Regions from separate parts of the Homo sapiens genome. Here all the other regions are linked to region 1. The links are contacts of gene promoters, found by promoter capture Hi-C in human tissues and cell types (Jung and others, 2019). All regions are on one chromosome and are shown on one strand. Each heading gives the region's core, a stretch centred on a gene start or on the middle of the fragment in contact. The rest is flanking DNA. Distances are from core to core; before and after follow the strand shown.

The links. Contacts are between HindIII fragments. The study calls those that stand out against the background at their distance.
Region 2: a fragment that was not itself captured here is called in contact with the fragment with the promoter of EHD4 in region 1 in 1 of the 25 tissues and cell types used here (hippocampus).
Region 3: a contact is called between a fragment that was not itself captured here and the fragment with the promoter of EHD4 in region 1, in 1 of the 25 tissues and cell types used here (dorsolateral prefrontal cortex).
Region 4: a fragment that was not itself captured here is called in contact with the fragment with the promoter of EHD4 in region 1 in 1 of the 25 tissues and cell types used here (spleen).
Region 5: the fragment with the promoter of STARD9 here is called in contact with the fragment with the promoter of EHD4 in region 1 in 1 of the 25 tissues and cell types used here (neural progenitor cells).

Annotation. Positions count from the first base shown.
Region 1 is chr15:41,971,261-41,973,879 of GRCh38, reverse strand. It overlaps EHD4 (EH domain containing 4), which reads left to right and starts at 1,323. Exons shown (of 6, transcript NM_139265.4): 1 at 1,323-1,621. The coding sequence starts at 1,386. PLA2G4E-AS1 (PLA2G4E antisense RNA 1) reads right to left here and starts at 1,117. Exons shown (of 4, transcript NR_120334.1): 1 at 882-1,117; 2 at 1-76. RefSeq lists silencers at 1,272-1,401, 1,442-1,511, 1,612-1,881. The HindIII fragment of the contact is 6,706 bases long and covers 1-2,619 here.
Region 2 is chr15:42,914,959-42,917,577 of GRCh38, reverse strand. All of the region lies in intron 1 of TTBK2 (tau tubulin kinase 2), which reads left to right. Among named protein-coding and RNA genes, the nearest start is that of TTBK2, 4.5 kb to the left of the region's middle. The HindIII fragment of the contact is 6,776 bases long and covers 1-2,619 here.
Region 3 is chr15:42,652,538-42,655,156 of GRCh38, reverse strand. It overlaps STARD9 (StAR related lipid transfer domain containing 9), which reads right to left. Exons shown (of 33, transcript NM_020759.3): 9 at 2,565-2,619. Among named protein-coding and RNA genes, the nearest start is that of STARD9, 78 kb to the right of the region's middle. The HindIII fragment of the contact is 8,421 bases long and covers 1-2,619 here.
Region 4 is chr15:41,340,115-41,342,733 of GRCh38, reverse strand. NUSAP1 (nucleolar and spindle associated protein 1) reads right to left here. Exons shown (of 11, transcript NM_016359.5): 2 at 280-348. Among named protein-coding and RNA genes, the nearest start is that of NUSAP1, 8.5 kb to the right of the region's middle. The HindIII fragment of the contact is 4,302 bases long and covers 1-2,619 here.
Region 5 is chr15:42,574,293-42,576,911 of GRCh38, reverse strand. STARD9 (StAR related lipid transfer domain containing 9) reads right to left here and starts at 1,306. Exons shown (of 33, transcript NM_020759.3): 1 at 1,150-1,306. The coding sequence starts at 1,196. RefSeq lists a silencer at 1,169-1,798. The HindIII fragment of the contact is 9,099 bases long and covers 1-2,619 here.

The sequences.
Region 1 (2,619 bases), core at 74-2,573:
GTCACCTAGGGCATCTGTTGAGCTCCATCTCTCCTCAATATTTTAACTCAGTAGGTCTGGACTGAAGACCAGGAATCTGCATTTTAACAAGCATCCCAGCTCATAAATGCATATATGCAGGTGGCCCCATGGATCACACTTGAGAAATGCTCTAAAACAACTAAGAAATATTCCTAAGCTACAATCAAGGACACAAAAGGTGATTATTTCCCCCAATCTCAACTTAGATAAGTGAGTATCCTTTTAACCTAGAAAAGAAACAGGCCAGGGGCGGTGGCTCACGCCTATAATCCCAATACTTTGGGAGGCCAAGGCAGGCGGATCATCTGAGGTCAGGAGTTCAAGACCAGCCTTACCAATATGGTGAAACCCCATCTCTACTAAAAATACAAAAATTAGCTGGGCATGGTGGTGAGCGCCTGTAGTCCCAGCTACTCAGGAGGCTGAGACAGGAAAATTGCTTGAACCCGGGAAGCGGAGGTTGCAGTGAGCCGAGATCGTGCCACTGCACTCCAGCCTGGGCGACAGAGCGAGACTCCGTCTCAGAAAACAACAACAACAACAAAAAACAGCTAGGAGGTGACAATGACTCACATGTCAATATGTGGAAATAAAGTTGTAATAATGAGGATAATGTAATAATGAGAGTAATGACTAAATTTTCGGCTTTACAGAAAAACACATAAAGAAAACTAAGGGGAAAAAGCCTTTAGCTGATCCAGAATTTAGTGAGGGCAATGTGGAGAAGTAGGAGAAACGGCTACTCAAATAGATTCCAGTCCACTTCCCCTCAAGATTGTGTCAATTATGCCCGTGAGCCTGGGTCTCTTGGCCTGTAAAACGGAGTCATAACCACCCGCCCCCGGGAAGACAGAACCTGCCTGTCCACTTTCTGAACTTTTCATCCCCAGTATCGACGTCCAGAGGCCTGAATGAGTAAACGTTCCAGGAGATGGAGCAGCCTCCGGAGGCTCGCTTTGGGCAGCTCAGATTTACCCGGAAGCCGATGCCACCTGGCCAGAGGTGAGGCACCGGCAACCAGAAGGGGGCCCTGAGCATGACCGGTCAGTGCCACCCGGCCGGGAAGACACCATCTCCCCGCCCAGTCCTCTAGAATGACTCCGTCATCAATAATTCATTAAGAACCTCCTCTCAATTGGCTGACGCCTTCAGCCCTCTCTGGCAGAGATCCAATCAGGAAGGACCTGAGAGAGCTCGTCTGAATAGTGGGCGAGCGCGCGTGACGTAGCGGCCGAAGACTGGCTGTGGCAGCACAAGGCGGGGCCCTCCTCGGGCGGCGGCCAGCGCGGCCGGGGCGGCTCAGTGCGAGCCGGGGAGAGTCGAACCCGGAGCAGGGTCCCATCCGAGCGTGGACTGGCGGCAGGATGTTCAGCTGGATGGGGCGGCAGGCGGGCGGGCGCGAACGCGCTGGCGGCGCGGACGCGGTGCAGACGGTGACGGGCGGGCTGCGCTCGCTCTACCTGCGCAAGGTGCTGCCGCTGGAGGAGGCGTACCGCTTCCACGAGTTCCACTCGCCTGCGCTGGAGGACGCCGACTTCGAGAACAAGCCCATGATCCTGCTGGTGGGCCAGTACAGCACCGGCAAGACCACCTTCATCAGGTACCGTCACCGCCCCTCGCCCGGCTCCCGCCCCGCTCCGCCCTCCCCACGTGTGCGCCGCAGTCGGCCGCCTCCCGCCGCTGCCCCTCCCGGCCGGCGCGACCTCGGGGACCCCTCCCGGAGCTCGGCGCCCGGTGCCCTCGGCCCCGCCCCGGCTGGCCAGCCCCGCGCGCTGGAGGGTCCCGCGAACCCGCGCCCTGCGCACTCCGAGCCCTCCTTCCTTGCGGTTCGGAAGGCGTTGCTCCCGCTGGCCTCGTCCGGTCGCCCTGGCGGGAGGGTCCAAGGGAGAGAGGGGGCGCGAGCCATAATCAGCATATTCTTGACGAGGGAGTGATGCCTAGGGATGGAAATGGGGGGAGAGGCGTAGGGTATCCGAATGGGACAGAGTCCTAGTTGGAGAGTTTGTTTAACTATTCATTTGTTCAACTATTTCTTGAACAAATGAATGGCAGCAGGAGAGCGTATCGCCCAGGCCCCCTTCCCTTGAGGTCTTTACGTGCCACCCCACAGTGTTGTGGGGAGGGGATAAAGAGGCCGCCTACGTTCAGTTCATGCACCGCCTTTAGCCGCCCGTAGGAAGTGAGCTGCGTGTAGCAGCCGCACCAGCCTGTGGAACTAAGGGGGAGTGTCATATTACTATTTGTTAGTTTCCATTTCTTAGGTGGGTCATTCCCTCCTCGCTTACCCTTGACAACTGAAAATATTTGTCATGCTTACCGTGTTTCTGAAAGCACACAATCACTGTGCATACCCTGTGGTTCAAATCATATAGTTTCAAAAGAAGTGACTTTTGCTGGGAAATTATTTAGACAGAAACAGATTGCTTTGTTGATCACCTGTTTTATTTCTAAAGCAGCCAGCATATTTAGGCTCACTGTTTTTGGTAAGAAGAACTTATTTTTCTGACTTAAGCCGTGTATCAGTTGAAACAAAGTGCTGATCATTTAAGGTTTTGGTCCAGGGTTTTGGAAATTGTAACAATCTCTTCATCATTTGAT
Region 2 (2,619 bases), core at 65-2,564, 940 kb before region 1:
TCGTACATATTTGGTGAAAGAGCCTTTAAGGTCATATGAAAAAATTCAGTTTTTTAGAACTAAATTTTGAGCATAAGGACAACACATATTACTACTCAAAACTGCCTCATTAAAGTCTGGTGATCCTTGATTATAGGTTTATAATACAGATTGAAATTATATTATAACATAATATGAATGTCAATTTTGCTAGATAGTTTCTTCTTTTCAGTTGGTTATTTTTAAATAGCCTTCTTAGTATATTTTCATTAATGTCATGTGACTTTATTCTTGATGCTTAAGTGAACATATAGTACTTACAAACTTTTGTGAACATTTTGGATTTTTTTTCCTGTGATTTTTTTTTTAACCTTTGTCTCTATAATCCTTGGTGTTTTGGAGTGTTTATAGCTGTTTTTTATTGTATATAGGAATTTGCTTTCACTTCAGTTAGGGTAAAGCTTCCCAATGTGAAAAACTTAAGTGTCCTTTGAAAAGAATCTGGGATGTAATAGTGCCTCCTAAAGAGTGGAAGTTACTAAGTAGCTTCTTAGCTTCCTTTGGTAAGCTATCGAGATTTAACCATGTTTTCAGAATCATTATTTTTTTAAACAGAGAATTAACATCTTTATTGAAAACAAGAATCAGCATTTTAAAATGTTTGAATTAGAAAACATATTTGCCATTATATATGTTTTTACCAAAATGGTTTTATAATTAATATTTTTATATTTGTCTTTTTCTTTCTGCAGTTTCAAAGTAGTTGCCTTTAAAAAAATGGAGTTGCAGTTTCCATCATCTTGTTCTAGCCATATGATCATTGAAAGACTATATTTTGTTCATATTTTTCCAACATTGAATTTTCCACGTTATATATTATAGATGAAGTTTGTAAAGTCTTTTTAAATTTCTTGATCCTCCAAGTGCTTCAGTTTCAAAAATATCTAAAAGTTTTATCACCATTTTTCAGCCGGGTGTGGTGGCTCACACGTGTAATCCTAGCACTTTGGGAGGCCAAGGTAGGTAATTGAATCACTTGAGGTCAGGAGTTGGAGACAAGTCTGGCCAACGTGGCGAAACCGCATCCCAACTAAAAATAGAAAAATTAGCAGGATGTGGTGGCATGCACCTGTAATCTCAGCTACTTGGGAGGCTGAGGCAGGAGAATTGCTTGAACCCGGAGGCGGTGGTTGCAGTGAGCTAAGATTGTGCCACTGCACTCCAGCCTGGGTGACAGAGTGAAACTCTGTATCAAAAACAAAAACAAAAAACATTTTTCAATGACCAATAAGGCGAAGATGAGGGGAGGAAAATAGGAAAAAATGAATAACCAAAGAAAAAAATGTGAGCCTTGCCTCTCATGGAAATTTGATTTAAGAAAAATCATCTGGAGGCTAAATTATATGGTAGATAATAAACTAGATTAGGACTTCATTTCTGCTGGACTTCCCTAGCACTTAAAAAATTCAACATATCCAAGATAATAGTCAGTTCTCTTTTTAACTTCCTTAATTCTATAAATAAAGGCATTATCATTTAGTCATACAGGATCAAAACACACATTCTCTCTCTCTCTTTTCTTTTTTCTTTTTTCTTTTTGCTCCCTATTTCTCCTGGATCTCACCCACACAAAACCTCTGCTTTCTTTCTTTTTTTGGAGACAGGGTCTTGCTCTGTTGCCCAGGCTGGAGTGCCATGATCGTAGCTCACTGCAGCCTTGACCTCCTGGGATCAGGCAGTCCTCCCCCCTTAGCCTCCTGGGTAGCTGGGACTACGGGCATGTGCCACCACACTTGGCTAATTTTACAATTTTTTGTATAGGTGGGGTCCCACTATGTTGCCCAGGCTGGTCTTGAACTCCTGAATTCAAGCAATCCTCCCACCTCAGCCTCCCAAAGTGCAGGAATTATAGGCATGAGGCACAATGCCTAGCCCTCTGCATTTTATTTCCATTGCTACCACCTTACTTTGGTCTCTGTGAAACTTTAAACTACTGTAGTCATCCCCATCTAAGGGGCATGCATTCCAAGACCCCCAGTGGATGCCTGAAACCTCAGATAGTACCTTACCCTATAGATAATTATGCTTTTCCTATACATACATGGCTGTGATAAAGTTTATAAATTAAGCATAGTAAGGGAATAATAACAATAGCTAATAAAATAGAACAGTTATCGTAATATGCCAGCATCACTACTCTTGTGTTTTAGGGCCATTATTAAGTAAAATAAGAGTTAGTTACTTGAACACAAGCACTGCTATACTGAGACAGTGATCTAACAACCAAGATGGCTACTAAGTGACAAACAGCACAGACGGTGCAGATACATGCTGGACAAAGGGATGGTTCACGTCCTAGGTGCAACAGAGCTGAACAGCTTGAGATTTCATCACCATACTCAAAACAATATACAATTTAAAACGTATGAATTGTTTATTTCTGGAATTCTCCATTTAATATTTTTGGACTGTGGTTGACCACGGGTAACTGAAACTGCAGAAAGTGAAACCATGGATAAGGGGGATTACTGTGTAACAGTAGCCTCATTCCTTGATTAAATACTTGCTAAGCATCTACCATGTTACTGTGCTAGGGGTTGGAGATTTAACAGCCAACAAGACAAATAATCTACTCACTTT
Region 3 (2,619 bases), core at 81-2,580, 680 kb before region 1:
GTGCCTGCCATCACGCCCAGCTAATTTTTTCTATTTTTAGTAGAGAGGGGTTTCACCATGTTGGCCAGGCTGGTCTCAAACTCCTGACCTCAAGTGATCCGCCTGCCTCGGCCTCCCAAAGTGCTGGGATTACAGGCATGAGCCACTGCGCCTGGCCCAGATTTGTTCTTTTTGCTTAGTCTTGCTTTGGCTATGTGGGCTCTTTTTTGGTTCCATATGAATTTTAGGACTGTCTTTTCTAGTTCTGTGAAGAATGATGGTGGTATTTTGATGGGGATTGCATTGAATTTGTAGACTGCTTTAGGCAGTATGGCCATTTTCACAATACTGATTCTACCCATCCATGAGCATGAGATATGTTTCCATTTGTTTGTGTCATATATGATTTCTTTCAGCGGTGTTTTGTAGTTCTTCTTGTACAGGTCTTTCACCTCCTTGGTTAAGTGTATGCCTAAGTATTTTTTTTTTTCAGCTATTGTAAAAAATGTTGAGTTCTTGATTTGATTCTCAGCTTGTCTGCTGCTGGTGTATAGCACAGCTACTGATTCATGTACATTAATTTTGTATCTTGAAACTTCGCTGAATTCATTTACCAGTTCCAGGAGCTCTTTGGATAAGTCTTTAGGGTTTTCTAGGTATACAATCATGTTGTCAGCGAACAGCAACAGTTTGACTTCCTCTTTACTGATCTGGATGCCCTTTATTTCTTTCTCTTGTCTCATTACTCTAGCTAGGACTTATGGTTACTATTATTATGGTATATCTTTTTCCATCCTTTTACTTTCAACCTGTGTCTGTGATTCTAAGGTGTGTTTCTTATAGACAGCATGTAGTTGGGTCTTGCTTTTATGCAATCTGAAAATTTGTACCTTAGGCAATTCACACTTAATGTATTTAATAATTATTGATGTGCTCAGAACCATCCATGTCTGATTTTTCTTTTTTCTGTGTCTCATATCTCCTTTGTTCCTCTGTTCTTCCTCCACTGCCTTTAACTGTTAGGTATTTTTATTAATATGTACCATTTTAATTTCTGTTGTTTTTTCTGCCCAGAGGAGGCAGAAGAAATGTTGATTTTTAAAATTGTATTTTTGAGCTATTTTCTTAGTACTTGCTCTACAGATTACAATACATATCTTTATTTATGATCTACTTTAAAATAATACTAACTTAATTCCTGTAAAATATAGTAACTCTACTTAAATATATCTCCTTTCATTTCCCTTGTGCTGTTATTTTCATATATGACAATGTACAAAAATGCATTGTTACAATTGTGGTTTTATGTAATCTTATTCTTTTATTGACATTAGGAGAAGAAACGAGAAAGAATGTAGGTTTTTTTTATATTTACTCACACATTTATCATTCCCAGATATTTCACTGTCTCCTATAGATTTAAGATACTTTCTAATATCACTTTCTTTCAGCCTAGAAGATTTCATTTAGTTTTCTTGTCAGGTAAGTCTGCTGGCAATAAATTCTACTTTTTATTTTTCCAATCTGGGAATGTTCTTATTGCCAGTTTTTTATATTATCTCAGCCCCCTGACTTCTAAGGGTTCAATGCTTCTGATGAGAAGTCAGCCATTCATCACGTAATTGTTCTACTGTATAAGTCACTTTTCTCTAGCTGTTTTTAAGATTTTCTCTTTGTCTTTCAACAGTTTAACTATGATGTGTCTAGGTGTGGATCTCTTTGTGTTTATTTTACTTGGAGTCCTTTGAGCTTCTTAGATCTATAAATGATTTTCAACAAATTTAGGAAGTTTTTAGTCATCATTTTATTTTGGGTGTGGTACTTCTCACTTTGTTACATTCCTTTAATCTATTTTCAGACCACAGAAAGGATTTTGTCCAGCTTTATAGTTGCTTTTTGGGGATATGACTTGACCTCCTCAATCCATCACAATGGAAGTGAATCTTCTAATATTTCATTTTAATGCTTATTTTCTTTTCAACCTTTTGTTTTAAATGTCCATACTGATCACACCGATGTGAAAGCGTTTTAAAATGTTAAAAATAAATATAAGCAGAAGATATTTTGATTAGTCTTTATAAAATGCTTCTACCCATTCTAGGTGTATAGCTTAACGGATTGTGTGTAAATCCGGTTTACAATATTAGGTTCTATCAGAGGACCTATAAATATGAGAGTAGGAGGAAAGGAAAAGAAACAGGGCCGGGAACGATGGCTCCCATCTGTAATGCCAGCACTTAGGCAGGCCGAGCCAGGTGGATCATCTGAGGTCAGGAGTTTGAGACCAGTCTGGCCAACATGGTGAAACCCCGTCTTTACTAAAAATTAAAAAATAATTAGCCGGGCATGGTGGCGTCTCCTGTAATCCCAGCTATTTGGGAGGCTGAGGCAGGAGAATTGTTTGAGCCTGGGAGGCAGAGGTTCAGGTGAGCCGAGATCGCGCCACTGCACTCCAGTCTGGGCAACAGACTGAGACCCTGTCTCAAAAACCAACAAACAAAAAAAGAAATAGGAAGGAAGACAAGAAAGTGGTTTAAAGGTACAAGGAGAGGAAGAAATCTCACCAAACATAAGGAGTTACCAACCTGCGTGTAGTGGATCGTGAAAATGGCGTGGGATCTGCTGCTGGCCTCATGAACA
Region 4 (2,619 bases), core at 64-2,563, 630 kb after region 1:
CCTGAGTAGCTGGGATTACAGGCTCCCGCCACCACATCTGGCTAATTTTTGTATTTTTAGTAGAGACGGGGTTTCACCATGTTGGCCAGGCTGGTCTCGAACTCCTGGACTCAAGTGATCCGCCTGCCACTGCCTACCAAAGTGCTAGGAGTATAGGCGTGAGCCACAACACCTGGCCAACAGCATGTCTTAAATCATCACTAGTTGTGTGTTAATTGCCCATTAACCAAATATGATTATTTTGCTAGCTAACAGGTAAACATGAAAAACATTACTCACCTGATTCTCATTTCCTTTTCTTGCCTCATGTTTAATGTAGCCTTTCAAGGCTTTTAACAACTTGGTTGCCTGCAAGAGAGACCTTATTATTAGAGCCAAAAGTCAAATAAACAAGGAAGATACGTTGAATATTTTTTGCTGTTCTTGTATTCATTAAATGTACTCTGGTCAGACCATAGGACTAGAACCATTACTTAGAAAGAATGGGTCTCTGCTCTAAGGAATTTCACATCTGAGTGGGAAAGTTAGACAAGGAAAGAGGCAATTGCAATACAGTGGGGTAAATGCCCACGCTAGGAGGCTCAGGCTGTCATGAGAACATAGGTAGGCATGGCCATCAAAGTTGGGACTGCTAGGTTAGACTTCAGCAAGTATCTGCACAGGGCAGTTCTCAGATAAAGATGTGATGTCTCTAATTGCTGAGATCTGAAGGATGAAGAGAAGGTAGAGAAAGAGGTAGAGGAATGGCACAGCAAGGCAACAATGAGGGTGGAGTTTGAAGAACTTAAGTTCAGTGTGGCTGGAACATGGACCTGTTTGTAGGAGATAGTAAGAGACAATGTTGGGAAAGTGAGCAGGGCCGTGATGTTACCAGGCCTTGTAAGCCTTTAAAGAGTATGAACTTTACTCTCAGAGAAAAGGGCAGTCTCTGAAGAGTTTGCAGCAAGGCAGTGGGTGACCAATTTTGCATTACTCAGAATGAGTAGTCTACCTGCACAATGTGCAAGATGCATTTGATGGGGATGAGCCAGAAATGCTGTGGCCTGAACTGGAGCGGGGCTAAGGCAGTATGGATGAAGTCAAAACCTTCTTAGGAAGTGAAATCAGTGTGAACATGAGAGTTGAGGAAGAGGGAAACTTTGTTATGCCAACGTTTCTGGCTTGGACAGCTGGTGAAGTGTGGTACGGTCCCTAAGATGAGGAATGCAAAAGGTGACGGGGTCTTAGGGGGATGGTTGTAGGTCTCTGCCGGGGGAAGGGAACACTGAGCTTCTCTTCCCAGCCTAGGAAAACCTCCCTTCTTGTTCTTTCCTGAAAGAACAATGTTAATTTGATTGGTTACATTTTCCTGTGCTTTAAAAGTCAAGTTTGGTTGAGCGGGGTGGCTCATGCCTGTAATTCCAGCACTTTGGGAGGCCGAGGCAGGTGGATCACGAGGTCAGGGGTTTTAGACCAGCCTGGCCAACATGGTGAAACCCCGTCTCTAATAAAAAAACAAAAATTAGCCGGGCATGGTGGTGTGTGCCTGTAGTCCCAGCTACTTGGGAGGCTGAGGCAGAAGAATTGCTTGAACCCAGGAGGCGAAGGTTGCAGTGAGCCGAGGAGATGATGCCACTGCACTCTAGTCTGGGCGATAGAGCAAGACTCCGTTTAAAAAACAAAAGTCAAGTTTTTTGGTTGGGTTCTTTTTTTCTTCCTCTTCCACCCAGCCATGCAGTTGAGGGCCACAGCCATCCTTCTCAAGGTGGGCCCAGCCACCAGGCTTGGCTCTATTCTTCTCATGCCTTTTATCATGGGCCATGTGTCCAGTAGAGAATAGCAGAGATCCTGAAATTTGGTTTGTGCTCAAGCTTTTGCTTGTGGTGCAAGCCTAAGCCACAGTCTCCAATCCACTTTACCAGAATGCTCTGCATCAAGATATCAGGCACTATTTCAGCTAGTAATAAAGTGGTACCTTATTTTCTACTTGTTCCTTGAACCACCCTTGAGGTTTTCTCTGGGAAGGGGATGATTGGCAGGGCAGAATTCAGGCATTCTTGATTTTTCTAATACTCTCTTAATATACCTTCAAAATCTCACCAAACATACAAAAATGCATGAAGTGAGGCACCTGTGGCAGAACCCAGTGAGGAGGTTGAATGATATGAGGTGGTGTTCAAGAGTTGTGCTGAAGGTGCAGATGTTAGTTATCAGCATATATTCATGCATTCCTTCAACAAGCATTTATTGTGCTGGGCACTGTTCCAGACACTAGAGAGTGATTAATTAAACAGACAAGGTGATTGCCCTCCAGGATCTTCTAGCAGAGGTGAAACAGTTACCCAAGAAAGCTAGAAATGAATGATATGACGTCAGGTATTATGATGCAAAAATAAAACTGGGCAACTGGGGTGGGGTGGGGATGCTACCTGAATTAGGATGGCTGGGAAAGGCCTCCCGAGATGTGAATGAGGAAAGAGGCAGCAGGTGAAGAGCACTCCGAGCAGAGCGAGCGCCAAGAACAGGAGCCCTGAGGTGGACTCATGAGTTGAAAGACAGAAACTGCCCTTATGGTAGAAGTATGGTGAACACTGAGGTATATGGAGGGCAGGGAGATCAGAGATGTGACCAGAGGCTGGG
Region 5 (2,619 bases), core at 57-2,556, 600 kb before region 1:
TTCCCTCTTTCTTCAGTGTACCTCTTTTGCCTTCTTCCTATTCTCTTTAACTTTTTGTTTCTTTCTATCTCATTGCTCTTCTCATTAGTCTGTCAATTACAAGACTTTTCAAAGCCAATCATTTCTATATGAGGACGAACATAATCCACACTAGTACCCAATTTTATTATGGGAGACGATACCTTTCTTGATCCTTCTGCCCAATTATCAAGCTATCTTATGTCCCAGAGATTTTTAAACTTGCCAAATAATTCCAACATGTGCCTCCTGGTCCCCAAAGCACCCTCTGCCAGATTTACCTTCCACCACTCACTTCCCTCCACACCAACCACCCTTTCCCCACCAAAACTTAACCTCTAGTTAGTCCCTTACAGTCTAAGTCCTTTGCTCTTGGCGGTCTTACTACATAGAAGGCTCTTTAAACTCTCTCCACCTGTCAACAAACTCTAATTGATCTTTAAAAAACACTTCATCTGGTGACAAAGAGAAAAAAGTTCGTGGCTGCACACTGGATGTCTCAAGGGCTGAGATGAGAGGTGCGGAATCAAAATAAGCCACGAGAAAACGGGCACTGAGGGCTCTGAGAGAAAGAAGGGGTTGGAACAACTTCCCCTACTTAACAGTTCCGTCCTGGATTAAATCAGCTGTCGAGCATAGAAAGAAACCGCGACCTGTGTCGGCCTCAATTTCCCCCTCACGCCCTCACCTTCTGCTTTCTCCACATCTTCGCAGAGAAGCCCACGCGCACCCAGAAACACACACCATTCAGCCTCAGTCCTCATGGGTACTCCCAAGCCCCCAGAAAGAGAGAGGAGAATGCTCATCCCTCTCCCAGCCTTTCTCAAAGGCCCAACCCGATGCAGCAAGCCTCGAGCCGCCGTCCCTCGAAACTCCTGCTGGCAGGACGCCAGCGACGCTCACCCAGGGCAGCCCTCCCGCGGCCGTCCGGGAACCGCTATCCCCAGGACACAACGCGAAAGCTCGACTGAGGTCCCGTCCCGCCAGGCCTCCGTGGATTCCGGACCCCGACCCCCCGGGTCACTTTGTCACCGATTTCTGCGCGCCAGAATCTCTGCAGGGGGAGACGCGGACCTCCCGCTCTTTTCAGCTCCTGTGAAGCCTCAGGCGCCCTCTCCCGCGGAGACTCACCTCTTGCTGAGCGGCCGGACCCGCACGGCGACCTGCACGTTCGCCATCCGTCTGCCACAACCCAAGTCCAGCGGGTCAGCTCAGCGGCAGCATCCCAGGCCCCCGCCCTAAGCCCAGACACAGCCCCAACCCAGCCCCGCCCGCCCCACGCGCCTCTGGGGACGCCGCCGCGCGGACGCGAGCTGCCGCCCGAGCGGGGCGGTGCCTGCCTAGCTTCGGCCAATCCTGAGCCCGGTGGGCGGGAGAACTCCCGGCCCCGCCTCCCCTCAATCCTCCTTAAAGCCTCCTGACTCGCCCCCGCCCAAACACGCGCCGCAGCCAGAGCAGGCGGGCCCGTGTGGACGTTCGGCCAGTCCTTAGCCTGGTGGGCGGGAGGATGCCAGGGCTCGCTCCGCCTCGTTCCATCCGAAGCCTCCCGGGTCGCCCCCGCCCAAACACGCGCTGCATCCCGAGCTGGGTGGTGCCCGCCGAGCCTTGGCTAGTCGGTGGGCGGGAGGACGCCCGGGCTCGCCCCGCCTCGCTCCGCCCTACAGCCTCTTGGGACGCCCCCACCCATGCGCGTGCCGCACCGGGCCCAGCAGTGCCGGCCCAGCTTCAGCCAATCCTGAGCCGAGTGGGCCGCGAGGACTCAGTGCTAAGTCTGTTGTTCCTGGCCCCGCTTACCCAGAAATAGTTTTTGTTCCTCGACTAGGTGTCCGTGCTATGTAAAGTCAAGTAAATCAACTTTTGGTCCGAAAGTTTGCAAAGTAATTTGCTAAATACTTTTATTCTCTGCGTTCGCTTGAACTGTCAATTCTGTGGTTAAATTTTCGAGGCAGGCCGGGTGCAGTGGCTCACGTCTGTAATCCCAGCACTTTGGGAGGCTGAAGCGAGATCACCTGAGGTCAGGGGTTCGAGTTCAGCCTGACCAACCTGGTGAAACCCCGTCTGTACTCAAAATACGAAAATTAGCCGGGCCTGTTGGCGTGCGCCTGTAATTCCAGCTACCCGGGAGGCTGAGGCAGGAGAATTACTTGAACCCTGGAGGCGGAGGCTGCAGTGAGCCTGGATCGCGCCACTGTACTTCAGCCTGGGCGACAGAGCAAAACCCTGTCTAAAAAAAATAAAATAAAAAAATAGAAGGCAGTCCCTTACTGGCAAGGTACTTCCTGACATCAGGGACAAAGCATAGATGGAACCAATTCAGATAAAGGGTTATTGTCCAGGTCTTCTTGTACAACCAAAAGACAGGTGGCTGGTGTTTATCTTTTCCCTTCAAGGCTTGAGGGTTAGCAGCCATATAGATAAGGGCAGTGCTGATCATAAACCCAACTGCATTTGCACAAAATATTAGCGTATCCCTTCCTGCCTTAAATCCTGGTGCTTGCTTCTCTTCCTTACTAATAAATGTCCTTTGTGGCATTTATTTTTCCAGAATAGGGAACTTGCATATGCACCGAAAAGCTGTTCAGGCAGATACCCTTTCTTCTC